Linked DNA regions of Homo sapiens: region 1 is linked to region 2. The links are contacts of gene promoters, found by promoter capture Hi-C in blood cells and fetal thymus (Javierre and others, 2016). All regions are on one chromosome and are shown on one strand. The core of a region is centred on a gene start or on the middle of the fragment in contact, and the rest is flanking DNA. Distances in the headings are between cores, read along the strand shown. Region 1 holds the start of VIP (vasoactive intestinal peptide). Region 2 holds the start of MYCT1 (MYC target 1).

Region 1 (6,784 bases), core at 654-3,153, 53 kb after region 2:
TTATGTTTATTTTTTCTGGAAGCATCCAAAAGTTAAGCTGGCTACAGGACCTCTGGTTTACAATTCATTTCCTTGAAAGAAAAGAAGAAATAAACACAATTCTATAAAGTCTGTGAATTAAAACTTTGAACCTGCAGATGGTGCTATGATTCCATTTTCAAATTGTTTTGCTTTCTAGTTTAAATTCATAAGAGAAAATGCAGTTGTTTGGTTGAGTTTACTTTTATTCAGAGGTAATAAAATTGAATTATTTCTTTTTATTTTATCTTATTATTATTATAATAGAAGCAATTGTCTTTTGTATTGGGAAAAGCTACTATAGTTACTCTTTGTAAATGCTAAGTGCTTGCCTAGGCCAAATAATGATCAGCTTTACATCTTTTATGTTTAAAATTTTTCTTCTTATCATTCAGCAGTCATTTGTCTGTGACCCTCAATTAAGTTGCTTTGCTGTTTCTGCTCTTAAATAAAATTGGTTCACTAAGAATTGGGTGATGAAGAGCTAAGGATAAAAAAATTCCATATGAGAACTGTTTCAACCTCTAGTTTGTAATAATCAGGTAAAAAAGATTTCCTGGAATTAAGCCACAGGAACTCTGGCTTAAGTCAGAGCTGTCAACTGGGAAACAAATTTCCAGACATTTTGAAACTTAATTCATTTAATTTTTCTGGTAACTGGATTAGAAAATATGATTAAGCATAGCAGGATATTCTTTTACTGGATCAGTCTGACTTTGAACGAAGGAAATAGATACTACAATCTTAAAGTAGAAGAAAGAGGACTGTAAAGCCATTCTGTCTTATGAAACTTAGAAACAAAATGTAAAAATAATACACATGGCAGAAAGCCTTTAAAATAAAAGGAAAAATGGCATTTTCCTCTGTTGTTTAGGAAATTTTTCATGTGGCTGCATTTTTACCTTAAACTCTGATTGAATGTGTGCTAGACTACCTTTAGTTACAAATCCACAAATAGAAGTGAAGTATTTATCAAAGTACTATATAAATGCTTTTCAACTATTTGAAGCCACCTGTCAAGTGATTGAATCAGAAATGTTCAAAACTGGTTTGAGTATGTGTGTGTGTTGGGGATGAGGGTAGAAAACTAATTCTACATTATGCAAAGACTTATAAAAGTGATGAGGAAAATCTTTAAAAAGAAAAGACAATTAAATTCCTTGAGGTATATAGCCTGACAACAATTTATTTTTTGGATCATTTGACACAGTGTATGTAAAAGTGCATTGGGAATTGTGCCATTTTATACAAATATGAAATAGCACTACTTGTACTGCTTTGTACAACAGCGTGCATATCTTACTATCTTAGAGACTTTCTGAAACACTTATCTTGGAATTAGTTTCAACAAAGACGAAATGTAATAATAGGAAGGTGAAAATTATCTCTAGAGCTTTTAAAGTTAGGATAGATTTCAAGAAAGATTAAATCTGGAACTATATGAATAGCATAAAAATTAAAAATATTAAGAGAATTGATACTTTGTAATAAAGTATAATTATACTTTTATAAGCGTAATGAACATAAGTGTTTGTTGCTTTATGCATTTGTTTCTACACATGAAGTCTTTATTTTCTGAAGGAATCCCAATGGCCCTGGCTATAACACTACAATCATTTTCTTATTTTACAATTAATTAAAGGTTAAAACATTTCACATTGAGCTTGCTACTTTGTTTGTTTAAAGAAAAGTAAATTTCCTCTTATCTTACATTTTGAAGTTGCTCACTATAAACTTATATAAATTAGGCATAATGACAATTAAGTAAGAACTTCAAGCCCTATTCATCCCATGGCCGTCATACTGTGACGTCTTTCAGAGCACTTTGTGATTGCTCAGTCCTAAGTATAAGCCCTATAAAATGATGGGCTTTGAAATGCTGGTCAGGGTAGAGTGAGAAGCACCAGCAGGCAGTAACAGCCAACCCTTAGCCATTGCTAAGGGCAGAGAACTGGTGGAGCCTTTCTCTTACTCCCAGGACTTCAGCACCTAAGACAGCTCCAAAACAAACCAGAACAGTCAGCTCCGGGGGAGCACGACTGGGCGAGGTAAGTGAAAACTTTACCTTTCCTCTTCTTTTTCCCTCCTGCCTCTGGAACTTTTCTCACAAAATAATGAATTTTTCTCTCTTGAAAAGAATTTGATAGTGCTTTGCTTTTGCAACAGCAAAAAACAAGTTTCTCAAGTCACCTGGTAAGGATAGAAATACTTCAATTTCTCTCATATGGATAGATTTTCTGAATTCTTTTGTTTGTAAGATGCTTTACCCTGCTTGCTCTTTTACTGAATACTGATTTTTACAAATAATTCATTCAAGTAAAGTTTACTTGTATGTAGATTTTTGACTGAAAATTTCAGTGGGAACATTTGCTTTTGAAATTTTCAACTTATTTTTAAAGTGCTTTTTTTTTCCTATTTCGTATGTTGGTTAAGTGAATCTAAGATGCATTTATTTTTTCCTTAAGTTTAAATTCCATAATTTTTATAGGCAGCAAGAGAAACAGACCTTACTCCTAGGCTTTTAATCTAGAAACTAGAAATGAAATGTGTAAGTTGATTAAATGCAAGAAATGCAAGCTTTGCTTTTAATATATATTTTCCTCTTATGGAAAAATTTATTTCAATGACAACATATGATTCAGTAATATTTTGAGTATTAATATTCACTACTGAGTTAAGAAGTTCAAATCCAGGTGTAAGGAAATAAGTTTCCGTAATATCTACAATTGAAAGAGGAAAAAGTAATGTATATACAAAATCTTTTTTAAAATTATATGTATATATACACATTATATTTATACATTTGCACACACACGAGCAGAATAATTATTAAATAGATGATACTCTAGTCTTATATTAGTCAGATACTGAAATTTTAAAGCAGAAGAAAATCAATGTCTTGAAGCTGTTTCCTTCGTCAAAAAATACACTAAGCTTGAGTGGTACATCCCTGTTATGAAAAGATTGTCCCCAGGGTTATTTCCAGCACTATAGAAGTATGGCATTCAATAGATACTGGGGCCAACCATGTGCCCAGACAGCAGGTGAAAAGGATTCTAATTTTTATTCAAGCACCTGTCACTGAGAGAAATACTGATTTTTGAATGTATCATCTTGCAATTTAACTCTTTCTACAAGATGAAAATTACTCTTTACAAACTCTGCAAGAGCCATTGAAAATTACTGCTAGACAATCAGAATTACCTTGCTGGTGACATCTTTGGCTGGAAGAACTGAGGTGATTCTCTCTCTTTAGAGGCACAGAAATGGACACCAGAAATAAGGCCCAGCTCCTTGTGCTCCTGACTCTTCTCAGTGTGCTCTTCTCACAGACTTCGGCATGGCCTCTTTACAGGGCACCTTCTGCTCTCAGGTAAGTTCCCTTTCAATTCAAACATCTGAACATTCCTTCCTCATCTAAATGGGAATTTCCTATACATTTTGTTGGACAACTAAATAGTATAAATTATGTATTATGTATTTAAATTTTTCCTTGATGTGTTGAGTGAGAGGTGTTTGTCAACATCAGGTCATTCTGAGTCCTGGAATTCACTTTCAGGGCATGAGAGACACTGTCAGTTATTAGTTTTATGGGCTGAGTGGATCACATTCCCAAACATGGTGAAAGGAGGCTTTCACTTTCTTTTTATTCAAAACCATCTTTAGATAAATAATAAGCTTTTATCCATTGTTATCTCAAGTCAGTTCAATTTCTGGTGGAAAAAAGCTGTTTAGTTGCCAACCACATTTGAGTTTATTTTCAAGATTAATCAGTAAATAATCATAAGACTAGTAGTTGATTAGTGAAACATGTATAAAATCATGTTGCACAGAAATCTATCTAGGCAGAGTCAATTTGCCAATATTAAATATGGGGTAATTGATCTATTGAGATACACTCCCCCAATAGGAAAATTTTGATATACTTTGTTTGGACCATAAATCCTTAGTTTTATTGTTCTATATGTTATATTATATATTCCAAATCCATAAAGTATAACACAACTCTTATTTAAAACTTTATTAATGTATGCTAAAGAAGTAAACAATAAATGAAAACTATATTAGCTTGAATTTTCCTTTCAGTTTACGGGCACCACTGTATCTCCAAAGGAAAAATAATAATTGGGTTGGTTTCCTTCTTTGCTTATTAGGTCATTCTTGATTTTTTGCTTAAGGTAGACTTATGCTCAACAGAGAGAATAACCTCTTAGCTATTAGTGTTCTCTGTGAAATCTGTTTAAATACAGCTCCTGCGTTGCTTTGATAACTAAACAAAATGGTTCTATCTGAATAGTTCTACCACAGCAGATGAACAATCACAAGAATGTGGACATTTGTGTTGATTGCTAAGCTTCAGACCCACAGAGGACTAGTTGCTAGTGACTCCCAACTCCCAAATCACTGAAAGATACACAAGTGTCCAGGAGCTGACACGCTCCTTGGATGTTTGCCCTAACAGTGAAAATCTGCACACACAAAATTATAAGAGTTGCCGGTGATTGAAATATGCATGCATCCATAAATATAGTCATATTCCATATATGCATTTGACTATTCTTAGTCTTTCAGTGTAACATTGTACATCCCTTATTAAAGTTGTGTTAATACATAAGATTAGAAAAAAGAAGGCCCCATAAAACTTATTGAATTCAAATTCATCTTCATAGATGAGCTATCCATCTATGGAGACATTCTTTGAACTCTGTCAATACAGAGAAATATATAATGCCAAAGTAAATATTTGAAGCAAAGCTTGGGGGTCGAGAGAGAGAGAAGCAGTTAATACTCTGTTCTTCAGAGATGTTTGGAACAGGTAATACTGAACATCACCAAATCCATAAATTGTTATCAGTTCTCATTCAATATTAGTTTTTTGCAAGTTTCTATTTTGCATAAAATATTTCTACATACGAAATTTGACTTTGCAAAGTGAAGATATTCTTGGCATAGTAAATTACACCAAAGAAGTATAGTTTGCTTAATGCTCTGATAAGATTGAATTAAGTAGCTCTTGTGTTTTGTATATTCAGCTTATAAAAGTCATATGGCATCTACTTTATAGGATAATAGGAATTTCCTATTTATACTCTCATTAACTATATGAGCCATTAAGTCAAATTATGCTATTCTCATATTATGACTGGGTAATACTTCCCAAGAGTCTAAGTATCTTATTTTAAATGGTTGCGGAACCATACACACTGTCTTCTGAAAAAAGAATGTATTATTCTCGTGTAACTTTCCCCATCAGGTTGGGTGACAGAATACCCTTTGAGGGAGCAAATGAACCTGATCAAGTTTCATTAAAAGAAGACATTGACATGTTGCAAAATGCATTAGCTGAAAATGACACACCCTATTATGATGTATCCAGGTGAGTTTATTTTTATAAAACTATCCAATGAGTTTTATTTTAGAAAATGTGTTTAAGAACTATAAACGTGCTTATTTTATCTCACCATGAAGCTATTCCGATAGCAAAACACTAGAGGTTTCTATGTGTCATGGCTTCATTCATCCTGATTTACTGCAGATCTTACAGCTGTACATAATTTTCATACTGAAAGGTTGTAACAAGCCAGGATGAACACACCATTCACTTCCATTCTGTTGCACATAATTCCAACATCACAGATTGTACCAATTCTGATAAAAGTACAGCATTTAGCATTCCAATGATGGAAGAGTTGCCAAGGAGTTTTGTCTCTATATAAAGAAAAGATACCTGATAGAGCTGTTCATTCATAGAGCTGTTTGTCTAGAGCATCATTTCAAGTACAGACCAAGTAGCTCTATAGTACTTGGTACAGACAAAGTATAAAAGGTGCTTCATTTGAAAGAGAAAAGGTGGGATGATAGGCCTTAATGCCTTCTCTATCTTAAGAGATTTTGTTTCCAAATATTTTGGAAAAAGAAAAAAAAAGGTGTACTGGGGTTTATGAACTTTCCAAAATCAGAATATTTTCCCATTGTGAATGTCTTTATTCAGTGGGGCAGACACAAAGCACCATGTACAAATAGCAGCTAATTTAAATAGATCATATTTTTACACCAATATTTCTTAGAAAGAAATAGTTATAAAGATTCAACCATGGAGGAATATTGAAATGTGCTCCTAGAAATGCCTGTTTCTTTAATTTTTCAGTGTCTTGGGCTAGAAATATAGGGTATATCTTGATATAAGTGACTAGAAGATCTCTTTTGTTAGGGTGTTAAGAAATCTCCTTTTGAACTTTAGTTTTAATGAGAAGCTTTCATAATAAGCCCATAATTTTTTTGTTATTTAATAAGCCATAATAATATTCTAGAAAGCCATTTACAAAATAATAGCTATTTTTTTCTTCCTTGTTTTAGAAATGCCAGGCATGCTGATGGAGTTTTCACCAGTGACTTCAGTAAACTCTTGGGTCAACTTTCTGCCAAAAAGTACCTTGAGTCTCTTATGGGAAAACGTGTTAGGTAAAGAGAATTTATTATTTTTATAAAATATGTTATCATTATTCAATCTGAATATTGTATTTTCACTCTTAACAAGTTATTTACTTTGTTTGAAATTGAAAACTCGTTGATAATGTTTAATTTAGTTAAATGAAATAACTTGTATTCTTCAATAACATCTATCAAGCCCATGGACTAAGACTTTTTCATAATATCATATTCATTGACTCCAGACACACATTTTTCTCAAGTAGCAATCATTTAGCAATCTGCAATCAAATTGAACAAGACTCAGTAAAACAATCAAAAAGAGATAGTACAGACT
Region 2 (7,463 bases), core at 2,606-5,105:
GAAAACCCTGAAGACTCAGCCAAAAAACTATCAGAACTGATTTCAGCACTTTCTCCCTGTGCCTCTAGCTCTGACTCTCATTGTTCAGATTTAAGTCAATTTCCCTCTCAGATCTGATCATCACTTTCCATAGCCACAATCAGACATTCATGAAGACTTATTTACTGAGAAAAAAATTAATGACACTGACCTTGGGAAATTATCTTTACTTCCACTGTAGTTTGTAAAATCTTAAAACTTAACAGCTAGATTTTCACCTGACCTCTATTTTAATGTTGTCATCATCACCTCTATTTTTAATTTTGTCATTCTCCCTACCAAAGTGAATGAATTTAAAGAGAAAGAAAAAGAAGACCAACATTTATACCATGTAAACAAAGAAGAAAAAAGGCATAACTCTGTTAAAATGACATGTTCATATTTTTAGTCATCCTCCTAGTTACTTTCTAAAAACTTGAATTAAAAAACAGATTTAAAATTTTAATTTTTTGTGGGGAGTTCTTATAGGTTTTGACAGTACTCCCAGTTTACTGAAACTGTTTGGGTCAATTTAATATTGGGAAGATAAAACCTATTATAGTTTTAAAATATAAAGCTAAAAAAGGAAATTCAATGTCAAATATGTACCTTCTCTTAAATGTGATGATGTTCTTTTGTATCATTTGATATTGTTATAAGTTAAAATGTAAAACTATTAAAATGCATGTGAATAGAGATTTTTAACTTGTTTTTTAGGGTCCAGTGACACTTTTATTAACTTGGAGTGTCCAAAATACTTTCATCTTGAGATCCCTTCAAATTATTTCATTTCCCTATTTAATAAATATTTATGAAGAGCCTATTGCATGCCAGGCACTATTTCAGCCACTGGAGTTCAGTTTGTGAACAAAATCAATAAAGCTCCTATCCTCATGAAACTTATTGCTGGTGGAAGAGACAAAACACAACCAAAAAAGCAAAGCATTTTTATGTACCCTGAATGCTTACGTTCCCCCAAAATTAATATGTTGAAATCCTCCCCGCCAAGGTGATGGTAGGAAGAGGTGGGAACTTTGGGAGTGATTTGGGTTATCCAACCCTCATGAATGGGATTAGTGTCCTTATAAAAGAGGCTGAAAGTGACCCTTCACTCCTTGCACAGTGTGGGATCACAACGAGAAGATGACTGTCAACGAGACAGCGAGCCCTCAACAGACACTGACCTGCCAACCCCTTGATCTTAAACTTCCCAGCCTCTAGAATTGAGAAATAAATTTCTGTTGTTTTAAAGCCACCCAGTTTAGGATATTTTGTTATAGCAGCTGGAACAGACTAAGACACATATATAGCATAATGTCAGGGTATGATAAATAACATAGGGTCAGGAGACAGAGCATGGTTTAAGTGGGAACACTTTAGACAGGGTGGTTAGCGAGTGCCTGTTGAAGAGTGACTTCTGGCCAGAGACGTGAATGAGGAGAGTGAGGAAGTCATGTGAATATCTGAGGCAAGAACAAACTTCTCAATGTACTTTATGACCACTGGAGAACCCAGACCTAAAGACCCAGGTTATGAAATAATGAGCAGTAGAAAAGCAAACCTAACAGTTTTGTAAAGATAAAAATCAAGTTCCTGTTGTGGCATGACAAGTCATGGGACTCAAAAATCACGTAGACATAAACATTCACTTAGATAGATCCATGCCAGGGAAAGGTATGAACCCTTACCAAGCAAATTACATACACAGACAAGAGCCAGTGCTGTCCACAAGCAAGCTATTCCTAGGTCATAAACTGATTTAAGAAACACATTTTCTTTAGAGTTTTGACTGGGTTGTGGCCATCTGCAAAAATGAAAACCCATTGGGAGAAAATCTGCATAGTTCAACATAGAACAATGAAAGGAAGTGTCAGCCTGTATCCCAGCCCTGAAATGGAATGAGCTCTGTTTCTGCACAGAAGGCAGTTGAGACAATGTCAGTTACCCATTCCACTCATTTTGGTTTATTTTAAGGAAAATGCAATCTATGCAGTGTTTAGGAAATTATATACACCTTTGAAATTAGGATTTATTGCAATCAGGTAACCTTTAATAATGCAAAATGTGTATTTAAAAATACATTTAGTAATTAAGAATCGTACTCGATGCTTTTAGAACAGTAAAGTGATTAGTATTTCAATATACTTTCATCCAGATTACATTTTCTTCAGAAATAACATGTTCTTTTAATTTTCTATTTTTATGAACTTTGTTAACAATATTGAAAAGTAAAGACAACTGTTGAAATGTAAGCCCTTTTTGTCTGTTAAGTAATAGTAGGAGCTTTTATTTACTGGATTATTTGAAAATAAACTTTAGCAAGAATATTATAGAGGTGAGTCTTTATATTTGCTCAGTGAATTCTCTAAATTTTCTATGACGTTTTATAATTCTCTTAGATGATTTATATTTTAATTTCTAATAAATTTATACTTAAATTCACAAAAAAATGAGACTGATCAGAAACAACCTCATTTTGGAAGAAGCAGGACTGCAAAAATTAATATAACTGTCTTTTTTTGTTGTTTTCTTAGAACTACTCAGGAATATATTACAGACTTCACAAAGAGGAATACTACTTTGCACTAAGTCATATTCTAATGACTAATAAGTTAGAATATGATTAATACAAGATATATGCAAGAGTTCAGGCTAGAGTTACTCAAAGATTGATGAAGCCAGATCATGGAATGCAGTTTAGCGCAGTTACTAGGTGCAGTTTGACACGTTATTCACAATTTCCAGTGCCTCCAAAGTCCTCAGAGGATCCAGTCTAAACAAGCAAAGCTTGAGGAAAGACTCTTGAAATGTTAACTAACTTGTGTTTCTCAAAATGTTTCATGTAACTCTTTCCTATATCAGTTCTCAAACTTCTCTATAAAAAACAAATTCCTGAGATCGTTGTACCCTTTGTTATAGCACTTAACAAACTTTGTAATGAAAAATTTTGCATTTATGTTTTCCCTCCTTGATTTTAAATATATTTCTTCAATGTAGAAACTGTTTTTTCATACTAAATACTAAGTAAAGAGTAACACAAATTTTATATAAATTACACTTAGATATTTATGAAATGAATTAAATAACTTTCAAAATTTGTATACCAAATAGAGAAACAGACATGTTAAGAATATAGTGGCCGAGCGCAGTGGCGCATGGCTGTAATCCCAGCACTTTGGGAGGCCAAAGCAGGTGGATCACTTGAGGTCAGGCCTAGTTCATGACCAGCCTGGCCAACATGGTGGAACTCCATCTCTAGTAAAAATACAAAAATTAGCCGGGTGTGGTGGCACGCGCCTGTAATCCCAGCTACTCTGGAGGCTGAGGCAGGAGAATCGCTTGAACCTGGGAGGGGCAGGTTGCAGTGAGCCGAGATCGTACCACTGCACTCCAGCCTGGGCGACAGAGCGAGACTAAGTCTCAAAAACAACAACAACAACAACAACAAAGAATTTAGTAAGTATCTGAGTTTTGAATAGTCCTTTCCCCCAATTTACTATATAAATTTAATTTTCAAGCATTGGAACGTGGTCTATTTCTCAATTCTGTATACATTTAATTCAAGGTGCTGTAGCTGAGAGTTTGGAGTCTTCCTTTCCATGTCAGTAGGGGATGAGGAAACACACACACACACACACACAAACACACACACACACACACAACCCTGTTATCCTAAAAGCAGTTTTGGAGGTGGCTGAGAGGAGAGAACTTAGGAACTTAGCTGAGGAAATGATGAAAAGGACATTGTTTTGTGTCTCAGGAACCATGTGGAATTCCAAGATAAGAAAAACAGTTGCTAATTTGAGTATAAAAGCAGGAAACATGATACACTTATTTCCTTTTATGCGAACACAAGTATATGAGGGGTTGTGTAAAAATTATTTTTCTCTTGCTGTACTACAAAGAGATAGAATCAAACTGCTTTTTTTCGACATACTGGTTTTTCTTTCTGTTTTTCTTCTCTTTCTTCTATTTCTTGTGGATATTATGGCTAATAACACAACAAGTTTAGGGAGTCCATGGCCAGAAAACTTTTGGGGTAAGGTATTTTCTTTTACTGTTTAAAATTTAAAATTAGGATGTAAGAAATGCACTGCGTGATTATTAAAACAGTGAAAATCTCTGAGACATTTTGTTTACTATAATGTGATTACTTAAAGTTTTCATGTTTATTAACAGAAATCTATTTCATACGTTTATTAGCAGAAATATATTTATAGATATAAATATATACTTATATATTTATTTGTCTTTATAGTGTTCTATGAAGATATTCAAGAAGAATCTGGGTATTAAGTACAGATTTTGGCTGGTGTTACAAAATATAATTAGGAAATAGTGAGGATAAAAATAAAAAACATAAGGTGGAGGTAATTCCTGCTTAGAATATGGCATGTAGATTTTGTTGGAAAAATTAACTTTCATTTGTTTGAAGGTTATAGATTATATATTTTATTTTATGAAACTGAGATTTTCCATAGAGGCTATTTTCACTTATGTTGTGAATGTTATATGCTTTAATTTCCAAAGTGAATCCTAATAACATCTGTACTTAAATGAGTGAATTTAAAGTGCAATAACACAGGTAAAATAAATGAATGACTTTAGAGTATAACAAATAAAACATGGAATAATATGAAATTTGAGAAAACTATAGTAGAAAAGATTAAGTGGAAATAACATCACGTGTAACATTCAATGGAATCCTATCACAGGGGTTGGGGGGAAAGAACAATACAAAAGTATTTTTTGGAGAATTTTTTGTCTGAGTCCAGCCACAGCTAACAGTCCAGTGTTCCCTGATGTTGACAATGGGACTGTGCTGAGGTCAAAACTCAGTTGCTCCAGGTTAGAGGTACAAAGAAGATGGGCTCACATGGGGAGTTGACATGTACTCTTGGGTTCAGGGAAATTTTTATATTAAAGGAGGCAATTTAAATTAAATTCAGAAAAACACTTTAATGAAGAAAATAGTATATATGGACAGATCTGTTTATATGGCCAGAACAAGTTTTTAATCCTCTCAGTGTACAATTCAGACTTTCTGCTGTGATTCAAGGTGGGGTTTTGGGAACTTTCACATAAACAGTGAGCAGTAGTGGCCGACTTTTCCCAGCAATCTATATGTCTACCATCACAGAAATTTGCATGAAAAGAATTCACTCCAGTCCTTTAACCTATGTACTTTCTTAGATGAAAAATGTGGGGACAAATATTTATTGGTTTTAAAAGATATTAAAATTCAGCATAAGAAAAAAAAGAATTAACTCATTCTTTTTTTCTCACCTACATTTATGTTTGCTGGAAGACTGAAAAGGAAGGATATTGGTGAGCTCCTAATAAATTTATGTAACAGAATTAAGAAGAAGAAAAAAGATTATTCTAGTACATTGTAAAGAAAGGCTTTGGTAATAGGTTATTTTAGGTAGCTAGCACTAGACAGAAGCCTTTGAATTGTAGATGTCTGATTATATGCTTGTTAAAATATTATTTGCTGTCCTCACTTATAGAGAAAATAAGTGCTAAATGCACACTGAAAAAGAGCTAGAGTCTGTCTAAATCAAATTCATCATTATAAAAGTGTTCTGTATAAATTATTCAAAAGTAAAGTAGTTTTTGCAAAAATTAATATGTAGAAGTCAATCTATTTTTTTCAAACCATTCAAAATTAAATTTCAGGTTTACTTAAAAAAACAAATCATTATTCACTGACTAAAAGATTAAAATAAACTTGATATTAATAAGAGAATGTTTAGTTGGAGTTCACCTATTGATTCTAAAAATTTAGATATTTTTAATATGGAAATCTGTGCTTAAGAGGGAATTAAAACCTGTTATTTCAAAGCCAAATACTAGTTTTTCCTTTCTCTTGTTATGTGACTGTAATGAAAATTAGATGAAAATAATGAAAACCAGAAAGGGGAGTGTTACATTGATAAACATTAACAAAGCCAATGGAAACATGGAGAGCAGATATAATGTTTGATGATTTTAGGAAAATATATAAAAGATTGTATTATTGCCTCTGGGGTAAAAATATGAAGTATAAAATGTGAATAAAAATATAAACATATAAAATGTATACATTTCCTGAAATATAAATGTCAATCTTTTAAATTTCCATTGCTTTTGTGTATCTAAATTGATGTCTATTTTGACCACTGACTCCTCAAAAATATTATTTTGAGAATCTTGTACAATGCAGTGTAATGCATTGTTATTGCTTCCAAAATCAGTCATCTGCTTGGCACATTGAATTTGGAAAATAAAGAAAAACAGCTTAGAAAAGGAAAACTTGTACATTGAACCATATAAATTGCTCAGACGTAGCACACTTTAAGGTACAGAAAAAGTTGTTTTCCCAATATAACTTTTCTGGTTTACTTTAATGAGCGCTAAATGATGGCATAATAATATCGGGTTATTACCAAAAACAATAGCTTGCATTTTCATAGCTATCACCCACTAAAACTTCCTAAAGGTGTGCAAGCATTTAAGTGCAAGGGTTGGCAACAAAGTTAGCCTGAAAGTGACAACACAGATGCAGACTATCACCTTCCACTCCCTATTTTTGCTTTCTTTAACGCACTTCCTTTCTCTATAAACATTCCCATGAAAGCTGCAGGAAACATGGCCCGTGAAAATTTGCCATGTCCTCCTCTAAGGCAATAGGAGACAAATACTGAACTCAGTTATTCTCTCAGTACTTGAGAGTCCTGTAGAAGACGTAGTTTTGGTTGTTTCTGCTGTCTTGCTTTGCATTTTTTTCCTTATGGCTAGCTTTGTGAAAAGTTGGGGGAAGATGTGGTTGCAGGAGTTTGCATTTATTCACTTAATTCAATTCTCACCAAAAGTACAATGTCTGTCTCAAAAGGATTATGCTCTTGGAGGCAATTATGCGTCTATACATATGCTACATATGCACATACAAACCTATATAGTTGTGGAATAATACAAGATAACATATGATAAAATAGCAATGGTTGATAATATGAGTTAAAACAATATATGGCAGAAATAATCCCTAAATCTTTCTCAGAAAAAAAATGAGGTGCTATCTGTTCCTAGAAAGATAAATTTCAGACAGGGAGATAATTCTAAGAAGGACATTCTAGTCATTCATTTTTTTCCCTCACCAACTCATTCTCATCCAGTTCATTAGTTCACTCAGAAGCGTTCGCTGACCATATTAGGCAATGTGTTAGGAGTCAGTGACACAAATAAGGCATTTCAAGAGGTTTGGGGAGCTCAGGAAAAATGTCACCAGCAAATATGCAGAAGTAAAAACACCCAGGCATGTTTGTGGAGAAAAGAACGTCTTGGCTAGAGATTCTGTGTGTGGTCGTTTCAGGGACATAGTTTGTAAGGCAGGTTGGAGGCAGATTTCTGCAAGATTTGAATGTCAGCGTGAAAGTTTGATCTAATTAAGCCTGATCACTTGCAAT

Evidence for each region. The method cuts DNA at HindIII sites, captures the fragments that hold promoters and counts their contacts. A CHiCAGO score of 5 or more calls a contact.
Region 1: a contact is called between the fragment with the promoter of VIP here and the fragment with the promoter of MYCT1 in region 2, in 1 of 17 cell types (neutrophils). The highest score is 5.8, in neutrophils.

The regions. Positions count from the first base shown.
Region 1 is chr6:152,748,894-152,755,677 of GRCh38, forward strand. VIP (vasoactive intestinal peptide) reads left to right here and starts at 1,904. Exons shown (of 7, transcript NM_003381.4): 1 at 1,904-2,066; 2 at 3,275-3,391; 3 at 5,273-5,395; 4 at 6,376-6,480. The coding sequence starts at 3,285. LINC02840 (long intergenic non-protein coding RNA 2840) reads right to left here. Exons shown (of 5, transcript NR_183508.1): 5 at 5,983-6,784. The HindIII fragment of the contact is 3,260 bases long and covers 1-2,593 here.
Region 2 is chr6:152,694,042-152,701,504 of GRCh38, forward strand. MYCT1 (MYC target 1) reads left to right here and starts at 3,856. Exons shown (of 2, transcript NM_025107.3): 1 at 3,856-4,057. The coding sequence starts at 3,862. The HindIII fragment of the contact is 10,649 bases long and covers 2,804-7,463 here.